Linked DNA regions of Homo sapiens: region 1 is linked to region 2. The links are contacts of gene promoters, found by promoter capture Hi-C in blood cells and fetal thymus (Javierre and others, 2016). All regions are on one chromosome and are shown on one strand. Each heading gives the region's core, a stretch centred on a gene start or on the middle of the fragment in contact. The rest is flanking DNA. Distances are from core to core; before and after follow the strand shown. Region 1 overlaps TASP1 (taspase 1). Region 2 holds the start of ISM1 (isthmin 1).

The links. The method cuts DNA at HindIII sites, captures the fragments that hold promoters and counts their contacts. A CHiCAGO score of 5 or more calls a contact.
Region 1: a fragment that was not itself captured here is called in contact with the fragment with the promoter of ISM1 in region 2 in 2 of 17 cell types (naive CD4 T cells and naive CD8 T cells); the score reaches 8.7 in naive CD4 T cells.

What each region holds. Positions count from the first base shown.
Region 1 is chr20:13,542,950-13,545,754 of GRCh38, forward strand. The region is part of intron 8 of TASP1 (taspase 1); the gene reads right to left. Among named protein-coding and RNA genes, the nearest start is that of TASP1, 95 kb to the right of the region's middle. The HindIII fragment of the contact is 3,963 bases long and covers 1-2,805 here.
Region 2 is chr20:13,219,925-13,222,965 of GRCh38, forward strand. ISM1 (isthmin 1) reads left to right here and starts at 1,350. Exons shown (of 6, transcript NM_080826.2): 1 at 1,350-1,990. The coding sequence starts at 1,853. It also overlaps a transcript of TASP1 not described here. RefSeq lists silencers at 1,133-1,252, 1,712-1,781. The HindIII fragment of the contact is 8,964 bases long and covers 1-3,041 here.

The DNA of each region.
Region 1 (2,805 bases), core at 290-2,789, 320 kb after region 2:
AAAAACCAAAGAAAAAATGAAAAATCAATGAAGGAGATAGATATAAACTTTAAATAAAGAGACCAAAAAAGGCAAAGTTGGTTCTGTGAGAAAATACTTGAATGAATTCAATCTGATTGGCAATCACTTTCTCTGTGTATCACCTAAATCTCAGCAAAAGCCCATCCCTCCAGCCTTGTCCTCCAACACTAGCCTCATCTCTCTCAAGTAATAACAGACGCTAGCATCTCTGCCTCACTTGTACTTCATACAGTGCAAATGTCACTTTCCACCCCTACCCTCATCCCCACCCCACCCACACCACACATTAAAGTACTACATATCTTCAAGTGATGCAGGCTCAAATAATTCCAGAAAAAGATTTCTTGGCCACGCACAGTGGCTCACGCCTGTAATCCCTACACTTTGGGAGGCCAAGGCAGGCAGATTACTTGAGGTCAGGAGTTCAAGATCAGTCTGGCCAACATGGAGAAACCCCATCTCTACTAAAAATATTTTAAAAAATAGCCAGGCACAATGGCATGCACCTGTAGCCCAGCTACTCAGAAGGCTGAGGCAAGAGAATAGCCTGAACCTTGGAGGTGGAGGCTAGAGTGAGCCGAGATTGCGCCACTGCACTCCAGCCTGGGTGACCCAGCGAGACTCCATCTCAAAAACAAAGATTTCTTGAATCACTTCCCGACCAAACAGGAGGCCCTTGCGCCTTTCAACCTCTAATACACACATTTCTCCACAATACAAGAAGACCATAGGCTGGCTTGTTACAGGATCTTTATTGGCTTATCTTGCCCCTCATGCATCTATAAGCAACAAAGTATCATAAAATTAATATTCTTTAATTGAATCTCATCAATAACTCAAACTTTGTTCCTTCTGAAACTGCATCTTGCTCAATTTGGACATGTGATCCAAACTCAGCTTATCTAAAGCAGTTTTCTATTACCTAACATTTCTGATTATTTCATATTTAGATCTTCCCTAATGTACCATTTTGCACATCACTCTTAAATGAGTTTGTTCCCAAAAGCACATCCTTTAACAACTGCCGTGAAATATTTGGCTGGTCCCCATAATAACCAAACCAAAATCCACACCCATTTCTCGTAATATGGGAGTAATCCTTATTTCTGGAAGTTTTGCGTGCCCTTTAGTCTATTGTTCAAAACAAACTTCTAAGACTAAAACCATCGAACATTAAGCCTCTCACTTTATCTGTAAAAAAATTGTATTTCTTGATATTGGTCCCATATTGCTATATTCAGTGTTTCCTTTTTGAAAAAATTCTTTACTGCCCTCCCATCCTATGAGGTCATTTGGTACTGGATCACACTTTTCTCATTTTTTACTAATTCAGTTCTATTTTACTCCAAAGTTTCTTGATTTCCTAAAAGTGAGAACAAGCAATGCCCATACTACACTTTAGCTCTAACTTTGTTTTTCCCACTGGAGAGCTGGTCATCCTTCACTGTAATCAGTCACCACTGTCTGGGAAATATATTCAAGAGAGAAGAAGAGAACCAAGATCATTTGGTAGTTTTACTTCATAGAGGCATGTGTATCATAGTATTAATACTTCAAAGACAGAAACAACACAACATGCTACTAACATACCGACTAATAGGATATGAATTCATTACTGGGCAGATTTAAAAATACAAAGCTAGACAAGCTAAGACCTTGCTAATTATTAATAAATAGCAAAGAAATCTCCTTTATAAATGCAGGCAACCTTTTCCAATTTAGTTGTCCAATTTGGCTCTTTCCAAAAACACCTAGCTATGGTCTGGACCTCTGGTCTTTCTTTCATTTTAGGGCACATATTTATCTTCTCTGGATAAAATTACACTTTCTCTTTTAAATACGAGAGCTCTGCCAGCCTTTAAACTGAGTCTTATAGCAGTGGGGAGTAACAGATAAAGGACTGGAAGGTAACATGGACAATCTGGATTCTATTCCTGTCAATGAAACACCATAACAGTTGGGATGGGCCACTTAACTTGGATTTAAATTCAACCCTTTCCAGACTGTAGAAAAATATTTAATGTTGACTTAATACAGTAATAAGTTACCTTATTTAACATGAGATTTTTTAAGTACAGCGTATCTATGCATATCACCAAATGGCCATATAATTATGAATATACCCACAAAAATAGAAACTGTTATTCAAAATCATAAATACATGACGATTAAAGATAAGCATATTGAAAAGCAAAAAGAAAGAAATAGTACCTATATACTCTTTATCCTTTCGTTCCTCAATAGATCTTATTAGAAAGTAAAGAACTGAGAGAGTAGGAAAGGAGTTAAGTATATTCTAGGATATAAAATATAACCTAAATTATGATAGTGCCATATCCTAGAAAATCGAATGTCATTCAAATTAATCTCAGTGATGTTTTCAGAGACTCTAAATACCCAAAGCCTGTGTTTAGTTCAAATAGCCACAAGGATGGGCCATTCATACATATTTCAAAATATTCCCCTCATTTGGTCAGAAGTACGATAATACAAATAAAAGTAGCATGATATTCAGGGGGACTCTAGCTATGGTCATAATTCCTCTATGGCCTATTTTACTTTGCTAAATTCTGCAGACAGTTTAACTTTATCAACTGACATTCCCCCACCAGGAATTACAAGCTGCAAAAACCAGCGTTTGGTTTGACCAGCAAAGTGTAGTTTGGTGTTACACATTTTTTTTTAAAATATCTTACAATGGAACACACATGGCCAGTCAGCCCCACTCTCTTCTACTTGTCTACCTCTCTAGACCTGTCTCACACATTTAGGCTGCCTACCTGC
Region 2 (3,041 bases), core at 100-2,599:
CGCGGAGAAGGAAGGTAGGAAATTGGGGAGGGGGAAAGGGAGGCGTGCCGTCAAGAAAGAGTTGATTATTTATTTAATTTCATTCACCAAGGGAGAATTCGGAGGCTCCATCCCGGAGGCACTGGGGTCCGGGACGCGGGAAAGGCTTGGAAATGTGCGACGCGGCTGTGTGCGAACGCGTGGACTAGGTCTTGGCTCGCTGGGAGGGAAGGGCTGGGCCGGCGCTGGGGAGGAGGAAGGGAGGGAACGGGTAGGAGGAGGGGAAGCGCAGTATAAAAGTCCCGGCCGGACTGAGCGTCCGCTACTCCGAGTCACTTCGGTAAGGCGGGAGCCCGAGCAAGGTCAAGGAGGGAAGTGCGCGGTGCCACGGACCGACACAGTTCGCTCTAGCATCTGACGCTCGGACTCCGCGCCCTCAGCCGGATCCCAGAGCCCTTCCATTCGCCAACCGCCCACTGCAAGGCATGAGCCGCACGCGGGAGCCCGAGGCTGCAGCGCGGTCATGAGGCGGTGGCCCGGGATCGACAGCTGCGCGACGCCAGCCCCCAAATCCCCTCTGGGCGCGGCACCCCCGGGATGAGCCCCCCACAGAGGCAAGCCCACTAGAGCTGAGATTCACTCCGAGTTCCTGAGCGCCTGAGCCGCGGGCACTGCGTCTCTGCAGCTTCCAGCCAACACCTGCGCCCGTGACCAGACGAACGCCTAGAGAGTCGGACTCCCCTCCCTTCCCAGGCTCTACGGGGCGCCGCGGATCCGCGAACAGCCGTGCCCGGCTAGCGGGCGGCCCAGCAAGTGTCAAGACCCTTCGGAACGACACTTTGGCACTCCTCCTCTCCCCCGACTGCTTCAGGCAGGGGTCGCAGGCAGACGCATGGCTTGTCCGGCGCCCCCTCCGTTTTCCATCACTGCAACTCCAGCTCCAGTTTGCCAATAAAGGTTTCTAAAGCAGCCCAGGCACCACCCCACCCACCCACAGCCCCGAGCCTCAGTGTGCACAAGGGCTCTACCCGCGCCCGTCACAGCGACCTCGGCAGCGGGCACTTGGTACAGCCCGGCAGGCTGACGCTGCCGCCGAGGGCGCCCCGGCTACCGCCAAACCGTGACAACCTCGGTGTGCCCGGGGCCCCCATCTGGAACCGGCCCTCCCCGGGACTCCGAGTGCGGGGCGGCGCGGCAGGCGGCCCCGAGGAGCGCGGAGAGTAGTGGAGGTGGCTTGCCGGGTGAGTGGCTCGGGGCGGCGAGGGCGGGGGCGCCAAGCGTGGAGGTAACTCCCGGCCGCAGCTGAAGCCCTCCTACTCCTCCTCCTCCTCCTCCTCCTCCTCCTCCTCCTCCTCCTCCTTCTCCTTCTCCTCCTCCTCCTCCCCGCGCTTCTCTGGCGGCCGCTCCCGCTCCAGCTGCGGCGCCGCGGCCACATCTGGGGCGCCCATGTGCGCTCGGGGGCTCGGCTGCGCCCGCCCCGCCGCCGACCCCGCAGCCCCCTGCCAGCAGGGTGGCCTCCGGCCCGGCCCGGGTCCCGGGCTGTCCCGGGACCCAGTCTCCGTCTCCGCCGCCGCCGCCGCCAGGCAGCGCCGGGGCTTGCTCCGCAGCCGGCTTGGACACCCCCGGCCTCGCGGTGGCTCCGCCGTGGTGCGGCGGCGGCGGCGGCGGCGGCGCCGGCAGCTCCTGCTCCCCCGGCCCCGCACACCCCGCCGCGCCCAGCGCCAGCCCCGCGGGCCCGGGAAGCGGAGCCCTGGCGGGAGCCGAGGCGGGAGCCGCGCTGCCGGGCTCCCGGGCTCCTACTCCTCCTCCCCCGGCGTCACCGCCGCCGCCGCCGGCCGCCGCGCCGGGTCCTAAAGCCGCGCGTCTCAAAAGGATGGTGCGCCTGGCGGCCGAGCTGCTGCTGCTGCTGGGGCTGCTGCTGCTCACGCTGCACATCACCGTGCTGCGCGGCTCGGGAGCCGCCGACGGGCCCGACGCGGCCGCGGGCAACGCCAGCCAAGCCCAGCTGCAGGTGAGTGCGCCGCCGGAGAGGGCCGTGCGCGGCTGCGGGGACGGTTTGTGGGGCGGGGGTGCTGAGCTAGTGCCGGGTGGATGCAGGGAGGCAGGTCCCCTGCCCCACCTAAGAGCAACTGTTTTGGCAGTAGTTTTGCCCGGGCCACTTGACTTAGGCAGAGGCGGAGCGGGGGCACGTGCCTGGAGGCTGCACCCGGCTTCCAGGTCTGCGGGCTGCGCTCCTTCAGTTCTGTCTGTCACGGGTCAGGTGCGGGGTTGGTGGGGAGGTGGGAAGGAGCGAGGTTTGGGATGAGCAGAGGAAGTGTGGAGAATGTGCTTGCTTGGGGGTGCTACCAGTCTTTCGTTGCCCTTCGGAGGCTGAGTAATGTTACTCGAGGCTGGAGGGACGCAAGGAGACTTTATAGGATGATATCCCTGAAGTCTTTGGGAGAAAGAACTCCGGGAGTCTACCCCTTTAGGAAGCAATGCCAAAGGTCAGGACATAATTTCCCAAGGAGAATAGCCAGGCATCCCCTCCTCACCCTCAGGGTTCCCTTGCTTCCAGTGTTCCTCTTCCTCCGGGAGCCTCGCCTGAGGTTCCCCCCTCCCCCCTTGTGCCCCCTTGGTCATGGGGAAGGTGCAGAGTGAAGGCACCGGTAGTGATTTGGGCCAGGGTTACCTGGGGCTTTTAAACTTGTAGCAAAGTCTTTCTCCCAAGGATCTTCCCCGTTGAAGGTCGCTTTAGCAATGGGATTCTGTTTATCCATTTCAACTTCAGGGCAAGGAGAGGGCGTAGTGGACGGTCAGACATAATGTGAGTTCTGACTTAGGAATAGAATTGCCCAGCTAGGCATTTCCTGCCGCTATGTTAGCGCCTTTCCTTGAGTCTAGGGGTGGGACAACTGTAAACTTGGAGCATAGGCAAAAGCAAGCAGGGATTTTCCCAGGAGGCAGAGGGGATTCTCTGGCTCCTAAAATCTGCTCAAACCAGGCGCGGTGGCTCACGCCTGTGATCCCAGCACTTTAGCAGGCAGAGGCGGGTGGATCACCTCAGGCCAGGTGTTGGAGAC